Linked DNA regions of Homo sapiens: all the other regions are linked to region 4. Evidence: promoter capture Hi-C in 16 types of primary human blood cells and fetal thymus (Javierre and others, 2016). All regions are on one chromosome and are shown on one strand. Each heading gives the region's core, a stretch centred on a gene start or on the middle of the fragment in contact. The rest is flanking DNA. Distances are from core to core; before and after follow the strand shown.

The links. The method cuts DNA at HindIII sites, captures the fragments that hold promoters and counts their contacts. A CHiCAGO score of 5 or more calls a contact.
Region 1: a contact is called between a fragment that was not itself captured here and the fragment with the promoter of MCTP1-AS1 in region 4, in 4 of 17 cell types (megakaryocytes, monocytes, M2 macrophages and 1 more). The highest score is 6.4, in megakaryocytes.
Region 2: a fragment that was not itself captured here is called in contact with the fragment with the promoter of MCTP1-AS1 in region 4 in 2 of 17 cell types (megakaryocytes and monocytes); the score reaches 5.8 in megakaryocytes.
Region 3: a fragment that was not itself captured here is called in contact with the fragment with the promoter of MCTP1-AS1 in region 4 in 5 of 17 cell types (megakaryocytes, M2 macrophages, monocytes and 2 more); the score reaches 6.1 in megakaryocytes.

Annotation. Positions count from the first base shown.
Region 1 is chr5:95,218,071-95,220,770 of GRCh38, reverse strand. All of the region lies in intron 1 of MCTP1 (multiple C2 and transmembrane domain containing 1), which reads left to right. All of the region lies in intron 4 of LOC105379085 (a long non-coding RNA gene), which reads right to left. Among named protein-coding and RNA genes, the nearest start is that of MCTP1, 66 kb to the left of the region's middle. The HindIII fragment of the contact is 6,099 bases long and covers 1-2,700 here.
Region 2 is chr5:95,157,019-95,159,718 of GRCh38, reverse strand. All of the region lies in intron 1 of MCTP1 (multiple C2 and transmembrane domain containing 1), which reads left to right. The region is part of intron 2 of LOC105379085 (a long non-coding RNA gene); the gene reads right to left. Among named protein-coding and RNA genes, the nearest start is that of MCTP1, 130 kb to the left of the region's middle. The HindIII fragment of the contact is 2,620 bases long and covers 94-2,700 here.
Region 3 is chr5:95,199,553-95,202,252 of GRCh38, reverse strand. All of the region lies in intron 1 of MCTP1 (multiple C2 and transmembrane domain containing 1), which reads left to right. All of the region lies in intron 4 of LOC105379085 (a long non-coding RNA gene), which reads right to left. Among named protein-coding and RNA genes, the nearest start is that of MCTP1, 84 kb to the left of the region's middle. The HindIII fragment of the contact is 3,469 bases long and covers 1-2,700 here.
Region 4 is chr5:94,977,306-94,980,005 of GRCh38, reverse strand. MCTP1-AS1 (MCTP1 antisense RNA 1) reads right to left here and starts at 1,308. Exons shown (of 2, transcript NR_189169.1): 1 at 399-1,308. The region is part of intron 2 of MCTP1 (multiple C2 and transmembrane domain containing 1); the gene reads left to right. The HindIII fragment of the contact is 7,189 bases long and covers 1-2,700 here.

The DNA of each region.
Region 1 (2,700 bases), core at 135-2,634, 240 kb before region 4:
TTCACAGTTAGCATTTCAACATTAGCATGACTTATTTAAAATAGAAAAAAATATTGCCATGACTCTGGATTTGAAGCATGTATGTTATTAGGTATTCTTGTTGTTCTGAGCTATTAAGGAAGTTGTTGCAGTAGCTTCTGGTGGCTATGTCATAATATGAGAGGTGAGAATTACTGAGTTACATTGATGAATGAGTTTTACTTTTTGCCAGTTCCCTCTTGGCCTCAACATCAAAGTCTTAATTATTGTGAATTGGCTAAAAGCCAACAAAATTAGAGGAAGAAGGAGAAACAAAAGATTCAGGTAAAATGAATTATTAAGAATGAAAAAAATTCTGATAGTGTCTCTCTTCCTTTTAGATTATGATTCCGTCAGTGTTTGTACATGCTTGTAGAGGCCAGCGGACTAAGGAATTCTTTGTAAAAAAAAAAAAAAGGAAGAAGAAAATGAGGATCCAGGTTGATGACTTAATGTACAGATTTTATTTTGTTATTTTATTTTTAAATATTGTACTATGAAAATCAAGTTGTGCTTGGTTAAACACACACAAAAAAATCTCTCATGTACTTAATCAGTATTTTTAGTAACTCTTCAATGACATAGGCTATTAGCAGCCGCTTAAGGAACCTCAGCTCTAATTTAGCCCTTATTTTAATCTTGAGTTCTGAAAGTCAGAAATTAAATGTCATCTATTAGCAACTAATACTACCTTTGCAAGTTAGTTCAAGAACTTTGGGCTCCTAATTTACATATTGCAAGCTGTTGCTGAATTTAGTGTGAGAGCTACCATTTGCCTGTAACAGAATTAAAATTATGATCATCCAAAAGAATTTGTAGGACCTAACAGAACTTCTCATTGATTTTTGGCTTTTAAATTTATCATTTCTCTTTCTTCTTACCATGAATTCATTACCTTAGTAGCTTAGTATTTATTTCTAAATGAGCTTAATAGTGGGGAGTCAAATGAAGGGACAGTTACAGGCATCTTTCTCTATAAGAATATAAAATTGATGGCAGATTTTGGGAAATGGAGTTTTTGCATTTGCATTTAAGTTGCTCACCAGGACACTGAAGATTATGTTTACATTTGTTTGACTGACTGTTGTCTCAGGTTGCTGTGTCTCCTGGGGATGGCTCTGTGTGGTCCACCCAAAGCTGAACAGCTGCTTTAGATCTTTATTGTTGTCGTAGCAGTGGAGACCTAAAGACCGTAGGGAGTCCAGGGCGATTAGAATGCAGCTTGCCAAATTTAATTCATTTGAGTATCATCATCTGATTAGCCTCATAGATACACATGACTTTATTATTTACCTAATGTTTTTCTTTTAAGTCAACTAAATTTTGTGTTTTAAATAAATTATTTTAAAAGGATTTTTTTTTTTTTTTTTTGAGATGGAGTCTCACTCTGTCGCCCAGGCTGGAGTGCAGTGACGCGATCTTGGCTCACTGCAAGCTCCGCCTCCCAGGTTCACGCCATTCTCCTGCCTCAGCCTCCTGAGTAGCTGGGACTACAGGTGCCCACCACCATGCCCGGCTAATTTTTTGTATTTTTTAGTAGAGACGGGGTTTCACCGTATTAGCCAGGATGGTCTCGATCTCCTGACCGCATGATCCACCCGCCTTGGCCTCCTAAAGTGCTGGGATTACAGGCGTGAGCCACTGCGCCTGGCCTTTAAAAGGAAATTTTTACATTACTAGCCCAAATTAGAAAAATCATTTTTTCCCAAAATAGATGGTAACTATAAAAATGAATAGGATGAAAAACCAGATGAAGTACAGTCATGCATTGCATAATGACATTCTGGTCAGTGATGAAATGCATATACAATAGTGGTTCCAGAAGATTATAATACTATATTTTACAGAACCTTTTCTATGTTTAGATATGTTTAGATACACAAATGGTTACCATTGTGTTAAATTTGCCTATAGTATTCAGTACGGTAACTTACTGTGTAGGTTGGTAGCCTCAGAGCAACAGGCTATACCATCCAGCCTAGGCGTATAGTAGGCTATTCCATCTCAATTTGTGTAAGTACATTCCATGATGTTCATAAAACAACAAAATCACCCACAATGCATTTCTCAGAATGTATCCTTATTGTTAAGTGACAAATGACTGTATATAGTTTTAACTAAATAAAGTTACCTGGAGCTCAGTCCCTGAGAACATGTCTCCTGTTTAAACAAGAATAGAAAGATGTTAAAGGCCTACTAGTACCAAACTGAAATTTTTCTCCTTGATACTAGGAAATTAAAAGGGGAAACACTTTGTCTCTACCTGATTTAGAGTGTTTAATGTACCATTACCACCTAAAATGATGTCCCAGATTACTAGTTGAAGCATTCCATACATTGGGAAATACTAGATTAAAGAAACAAAGAGAAAGGATCAAATAGCCTCACTCACTCTCCCATTCATTCATTTCTCTTGTTATGGGCCTGAAACTGGGTATGTAGTGTTGAACAACAAAAACCAAATTCCTGCCCCCATTGACTTAACCATTGAACACGGATCTTTTCTTCCTTGTAACCTATTGTATCATGCATCTACTCTTGCTCTGTCAAATTCTTTTCATCCCAGCTCTTATCTCATTGCTGTCCCAATATAGTGTAACTCATTTGGAGGACTAGAAATTCCTTGAAGTTCTTGTTCTCCTCTGACATCAGACCAGTCCCTATGTGTAAGGCCAAGCCTTG
Region 2 (2,700 bases), core at 154-2,653, 180 kb before region 4:
CAATGTGCTTCAGACTCACAAGTGGAACTTGAAAAAAAAATCAAAGTTGTGCTTCAGAAATTCTGATACACTGGGTATGGATGGTGCTAAGCTTCTATATAGTTATAAAATCCTAAGATATATCTGGTACATACTCACATTTTAGAACCATTGTTGTGTCTTAGTAATCTCTTTATCCTTAGAACTTAACATAGTATATAGTACATGCATTATGGGCACTTCACAAATGATTTTTGAAAATAGAATATGACATTCTTTTGCTGGTGAGCTGTATACATAGTGATAGTATAACTGATATACTTGGCACACAGTAGTTATCAGAAAGTGTGTAATGTTTGGATGTAAGAATAAATGAATGAAAAGAGCTTAGGGAATTGAGAGAAAGCAACTATTAGCATAGCCTCTTGAATCTCTCAAATATTGCAAATTCCATATATGTTTTCTGAGTTTTGGGTAATTAGGATTTGAAGTCAATCATTGATGTCTTCAAAGGCATATCTGGAGACATGATATTGTGGTTTGGAATTTTTATACTAAGTTAGTAGACACAGTCTTATAGATAGAGTTGACAACCCTTTACAAAAATCAGGTACTTTGACTTTAATTATTTTTTAGACGTGATGTCATTTTAATTCTACATGGTTGTAGTCTGGTATGATTGCCTAAAGTCAACATCAAATAGTTTTTCAAAAAATAATTTTCTCAAAGTTATGGATACATACTCAACAGAAACTAAAAAATTCTGCACCATAAAAAAATTAAGAAATTATATTAAATAAATTTGCTTTTTATTATTTTGAGACAAGGTCTGGATCTATCACCCAGGCTGGAGTGCAGTGGTGTGATCTCAGCTCACTGCAACCTCTGCCTCCCGGCTCAAGCCTCCTGAGTAGCTGGGACCATAGGCATGCACCACCATGCCTGGCTAATTTTTTTTTTTTTTTTTGGTATTTTTTGTAGAGACAGAGTTTCACCATGCTGCCCAGGCTGGTCATGAACTTGTGAGGTCAAGTGATCCTCCTGCCTTGGCCTCCCAAAGTGCTGGGATTACAGGCATGAGCCATTGCACATGTCCCTAAATTTGCTTTTGAGTTTAACTATTTATCTAAAATTACAGATGCTATTTAAGTGAGTTAAATTCCTTTTGGAAAATGTTGGGAATAGGCTTGATATTCCTTGTTGTTATTTTTAAAATCTGGCTTCTTAACAATGGCATCCTTCTTAAAAAGTACCAGATTTACTATTTATTGCTATACATATCCTGTAATTTAAAAAGCCATCACAGCCTTTTGTATTTCCATTTTTATCATATTTTCCATCTCAGCCAGGCTCTCAAGTTAATTTGTACCCAGAGGATTGTATAATTTTTGCAAAGCTGCAATGCACAAAGGCCTATAGAAAGTGAAATCCATCAAAAAATGTTTTGTGACTAAAATCTTGAGATTTACAATAAATGAATGATATGTGATGATGAAAAATGCCAGTGGAATGTGTTTACCATTTTAAGAATGTTTACAAAAAAAGCAAGATATTGTCACAGTCCATATTGTGCAGGTCTGTGTTTGTGGAATTGACTGCCAGGCTCAATATGTAACATTTTCGTTGTGTCTACTTAATATCAATTCTATTTATTTACTTAATTAACCAAGGGCTTTCTTTAGTGAGATCATGTATGATTTGTTCTAGGTATTATAGGTATAGTAGATGTAGACTTGCACTAAACACTGATTTTTAATGAACTACAACAGGGGTTGGCAGATATTTTCTGTAAAGAACCAGTAAATATTTTAGGCTTTGCGGGCCATGCTGTTTCTGTCATGACAACTCAACATTGCCGGCGTAATGGGAAAACAGCCATAAACAATAAATGAAGGAAAGGGAGTGACTGTGTTTCAATAAAACATTATTTATAAAAACAGGCATCTGGCTGACTTGGCCCGTGAGCCACAGTTTGCTGATCCCTGCTCCATGTAATCATATATTAATTTCAAAATTGAGAAGCTCTTTTAGGCCATGATTGCATGGTGACTTTGTTTGTACATTACTTTTCCATAATGAGAAATCTTAAAATTTTTTCCCAGTATTTTTAATGGTATATTTAGTTGTTTATCCCTTGATTTGAGAAAAAGATTAAATATAAATCTCTTGCCTTCGTCTTTAGCCTTATTTATACCACTGACCATGGACAAGTTGCTAAAGTTTTCTGTTTCCTAGTTTTCTATATGGGTCTACAGGGCAGCTGAATTCATTTGATAGAATAATATAAATTAGAAAACTAGCTTTCAATATCTTATCTGTATCTAGGGTCAGTGCAAGTGAATTCATAAAATATTTGGTTTATCTTTAGGGTGCCCTGGGTTCCAGGCCCTTTATCCTGTCTCTTAGCTTTTCAGGACCTTCTATAGCAGTACCCTCTTCTATCAAAGATTGGCTATTCCATGTCCCATTCCCAAAGAAACCTTTTGCTGGACAATTGGTTGATATATTTTAAGACCTAACTACTACTTTATAATATATTTGGATTTTCATAGTCTTTCTGAAGACTATTTTAACCCAAATGAGTTAATTTTCACTAATTTACATATATATTTGATTTTACCTATTTATAATTTTCACATAACTACTTCAAAAAAGTATTAGGGCCACAGAGTAAATTATAATGACAGGAATACCGGGCACTTTATTAAGGTGATGTGAGCT
Region 3 (2,700 bases), core at 159-2,658, 220 kb before region 4:
GAGTTCTGATGTCCACGAAAAGGGAAGAAGAGTGTTCCAGTGTTCCAGCTCTAGGAGAGAGAAGAAATGGCCTCTTTTCTGCCTTTTTTGTTCTACCTGAGCCCCGAGCCAGCTGCAGGGTTCTACCCACATCAAGAGTGGTCTTCCCCACTCACGCCACTGACCCACTTACCAGTCTCCTCTAGAACCACCTTCACAGACAAACCTAGAAACAATGCTTCACCAGTTCTCCTGCTATTGTTAAATCCAGTCAAGTAGACATCTGAAATTAATTATCACAGAAATGTTTGAAATGTGAATCAAATTTCTCATCCCCATACCAGATGTTAGAACACAGAGTAGCAATACCTTTTTCAAGGAAATTAAAGAAAAATAAATAAGAAGAAACTTCCTATTTATGGTTTCTGAAGAGTGAAACTGGGATAGGTGGTGGAGAAAAAACTTTTTTGGCCAGGTGCAGTGGCTCACGCCTGTAATCCCAGCACTTTGGGAGGCCGAGGCGGATGGATCCCTTGAGGTCAGGAGTTTGAGACCAGCCTGGCCAACATGGTGAAACCCTGTCTCTCCTAAAAATACAAAAACTAGCCAGGCATGATGGCGGGCACCTATAATCCCAGCTACTCAGGACGCTAAGGCAGGAGAATTGCCTGAACCTGGGAGGCAGAGGCTGCAGTGAGCCAAGATAGCACCAATGTGCTCCAGCCTGGGCAACAAAGCGAGACTCTGTCTCAAAAAAAAAAAAAAAAAAAAAAAAAAAAAAAAAAAAAAAAAAAAAAAAAAAAAAAAAACCACTTTTCCTTTACATTTTATCCCTTTTGTACTTAAAAAATACACTCATCCCTATAATTTTTAAATTTAAATCATAACAAAAAGGTAGTATATTGTATTATCATACTGCTTTTCAAACTTTAATGTGCCTATGAATCAATGAAGGCTCTTGTTAAAATACATATTCTGATTCAGTCAGTGTTGAGTGTTATCTGAGACTGCATTTCTAACAAGCTCCTATGATATGTGGATGTTGCTTGTCCTAGAACCACACTTTGACTAGCAAAGGTGTACAAGTTCAAAGAAGAGTGCAGCATTCTGTCTCAGCAGTCCTAAAGTTTGGTGTGCAAAAGATTCACCAATGGAGTGTGTTAAAATACAATTTCCTCAGTCCCAGTGCAGGAGATTCCAATTCAGTAGGCTTGGAATAAAGTTATAGCATCCACATTTTCAATGAACTCTACTCTTAATTCTTCTACATGCTTACATTTACATTATGTTATGCTGACAAACTTTTCATAGATAAAATTTTAGAGGATGTTGTTTTGTTTATCTCTGACAATCATTTTATATGTTTATCATGTACAACATGATGTTTTGAAATATGTATAAGTTGTGGAATGGCTAAATTGAGCTAATTAACATATGCATTACCTCACATACGCATCAGTTTTTGTGGTGAGAACACTTAAAATCTATCTTAGCAATTTTCAAAACACAATACATTGTTATTAACTGTAGCCACCATGTTGTATAATAGATCCCTTAAACTTATTACTTTTATCTAACTGAAATTTTATATCCTTTGACCAACATCTCCCTAATCCATGAGTTCAACTTTTTAAGATTCCACATACAAGTGAGATCATGTGGTATTTGTCTTTCTGTGTCTGACTTATTTCACTTAATACAATATTCCCCAGCTTCATCTATGTTGTTGCAAATAACACAAGTGTCCTTCATTTTTAAAGCTGAATAGTATTCCATTGTGTATATGTGCCACATTTTCTTTATCCATTTACCTGTTGAAGGACACTTAGCTTGATTTCATGTCTTGGGTATTTTGAAAAATGTTGCAAAGAACATGAGAGTGTAGATATCTCTGTCATACACTGATTTTATTCCCTTTGAATATATACCCAGTATTGGGATTGCTGGATCATATGGCAGTTCTATTTTTAATTTTTTGAGGAATTTCCATACTGGTTTTCATAATGGCTGCACTAATTTGCATTCCTGCCAATAGTGCACAAGTGTTCCCTTTTCTTCACATCCTTGTCAATATTTATCTTTTGTCTTTTTCTCTTTTTCTTTTTTTTTTTTTGAGATAGTGTCTCACTCTGTTGCCCAGGCTGGAGTGCAGTGGCACGATCTCGGCTCACCGCAACTTCCGCCTCCCGGGTTCAAGTGATTCTCCTGCCTCAGCCTCCCAAGTAGCTGCGATTGCAGGCACGTGCCACCACCCTTGGATAATTTTTGTATTTTTAGTAGAGACGAGGTTTCACCATGTTGGCCAGGCTGATCTTGAAATCCCAACCTCAGGTGATCCGCCTGCCTCGGCCTCCCAGAGTGCTGGGGTTACAGGCATGAGCCACTGTGCCTGGCCTTTTTTTTTTTTTCTTTTGAGACGGAGTCTCTTGCTCTGTTGCCCAGACTGGAGTGCAGTGGCACCATCTCAGCTCACTGCAACCTCCACCTCCTGAGTTCATGCAATTCTCTTGCCCCAGCCTCCTGAGTAGCTGGGATTACAGGCGTGCACCACCACACCCGGCTAATTTTTAGTATTTTTAATAGAGACGGGATTTCACCATGTTGGCCAGGCTGGTCTTGACCCCCTGACCTCAAGTGATCCACCCGCCTCAAACCCCCAAAATGCTGGGATCACAGATGTGAGCCACCACACCCAGCAATCTTTTGTCTTTTTCATAATAG
Region 4 (2,700 bases), core at 59-2,558:
GGTATTTTTTAAAACTAAATGTCAGTGGAGTCCTTTCTTTAAGGGCCTTAAATCTTACATTTTCCTTATTATTAGCACCAAACAATATAATCATGATTTGTTGTGGTTTAAATTTTGTATTTGTTAAGATATATAACTAAACAGATAAACCCGATATATCAATGATTTAACCTAAGAAAAGCTGTTTTTCTTGCTCTTATTATGGTTTAATATGTGTCCGTGTTGGAGGGTGGGGCTCTAGTTCTGCTCCACACAGTCATCACGGGCCCCTAGTGTTTTTTTTCTATCTAGTGTTACTATCTCCCTTTTGGTCCTCAAAGCCTGTGGTTGACAGAGTAGAGTAAGAATCCCACATGGGAAGATTTTTATAGGCCAGGCTTAAAATTGGCACACATTACCTTTTGCATTTATATTCAGTTGACCAGAATGCAGCCAATTGACCACTCCTAATTTTAAAGGAGGCCGGAAGCTATAGCTCATATTGCCAAGCAGTAGCATTCTTGGCTATACTCTACCTCTGGTCACCAAATATGTTTCACTCTTCCTGCATATAGAAGACATTCACTCTTCTCCAAGAGAAACAGTCAAAGTCCCATCTGATCACCGTATACAGCTCTAAGTTCAGGATCTCTGAATAAAAGGATATTCTCTGTCAGGTCTGAATGTGGTTCCTTGTAGCCCTCGGAACTAAGAATCTGCCTACAGTCTCCCTATACACATCCAACATACAATGGTAGAAATCATGGGGGGCACAAGTTACTTGTCAGTATAAATTCTGAAATCCCCATGTCCATAAAGAGGCCAGATGAAGGCCTCTTAACCTGGAGAGTAGGAAAATTGTTTGATTAGAACTTTTCTGTCTGGGAAGAATCCTCTTGTTTGTTGTTCTCCGTGGCAACTGGCCCCTTAATTTGGGGATCTATTTCTTATTCATTGTCCTCTATGGCCATGTCTGAAATGGGTGTGAAGGAGCTTGCTCTCCTTGGGGATTGTACATCTTTCATATCCTGCTTCCTACTAGGGTAATGTCAGGGATCTCAAACAGCTAAGTTCTTTCTCTCAAAAACTCAGTAGGCAGTAGGCTTCTGTGTGCCAATGATCACACCCAATGATCTTGGTTTTTTAAAAAAATTTATTTTATTGTGGTAAGAACACTTAACATGAGATCTACACTCTTAACACATTTTTAGGCATATAGTACAATATTAATATAGGAGCAATGTTGTACAGCAGATCTCAAAAACGTATTCATCTTGTGTAATTGAGACTTTATGCCCATTGACTGGAAACACCCCATTCCCCACCCCTACTACCAGCCCTTGGCATCCACCATTCTACTTTCTGATTCAATGAGTTTGACTATTTTAGATATCTGATGTAAGTGAAATCATGCAGTATTTGTCCTTCTGTGGCTGGTATATAGCATAATGTCTTCAAGTTTCATCCATGTTGTCACATATTGCAGGATTTCCTTCTTTTTTCAGTCTGAATAATATTCCATTATATATATATACCACATCTTCTTTTTATGCATGCATTCATTGATGAACATTTAGGTTGCTTCTATGTCTTGGTTATTGTAAATAGTGTTGCAATGAATATGGGAGTGCTTATTTCTCTTTAAGATCCTGATTTCAGTTCTTTTAGATAAATACTAAAAAGTCAGATTGCTAAATCATATGGTAGCTCTATTTTTATTTTTTTTTAGAAATCTCCATATTGTTTTCCACAGTAACTGCACCATTTTGCATTCCCACCAACAGTGTACAAGGGTTCAGATTTCTTCACATCCTCACCAACACGTGTTGATAGTTTTCCTACCAGGTGTCAGGTGATGTCTCATTGTATTTTTGATTTTCATTCCCCTGATGTTTGGTAACAGCATCTTTTCATATACCTGTTGGCCATTTGTATGTCTTCTTTGGAGAAATGTCTATTCCAGACTTAGCCCAGTTTTAAAATCAGATTATTAGGTTTTTTTGCTATTGTGTTGTAGAAATTCCTTATATATTGGAAACTAACCCCTTATCTGATATATGATTTGCAGATATTTCCTCTAGTCCCATTTGCCTGGTTTTACTTTTGTTTCCTGTGCTTTTGGTGTCATACTCACGCAATCATTGACAAAACTAATGTCATGAAGGTTTTTCCCTGTTTTATAGTTTCATGACTTATATTTAAGTTTTTAATCCATTTGTATTGATTTATGTATATGGGGTAAGATAAGAGTCCAGTTTCATTATTCTGCATGTGAATATACAGTTTTCAAAAGCTATTCGTTGAAGACTATCCTTTCCCTATTTTGTATTCCTGGCACCCTTGTTGAAGGTCAGTTTACCATACAGGCATGGATTGATTTTCATTCTGTTCCTTGGACTATATGTCTGTCTTTTTCACAGTACCATGCTGTTTTAATTACTGTAGCTTTGTAATATATTTTGAATCAGGAAGTATGATGCCTCCAGCTTTGTTTTTCTTTCTCAAGATTTTTTTTGACTATTCGGGGTCATCTGTGGTTCCATATGAATTTTAGGGTTTTTTTTTTCTATTTCTGTAAAAAATATCATTGGAATTTGATAGAGATTTCATTGAATCTATAGATTGCTTTGGGTAGTATGTACATTTTAACAATATTCCATTTTTCAATTCATGAACACAAGATGACTTTTCATTTATTAGTGTCTTCTTTAATTTCTTTCA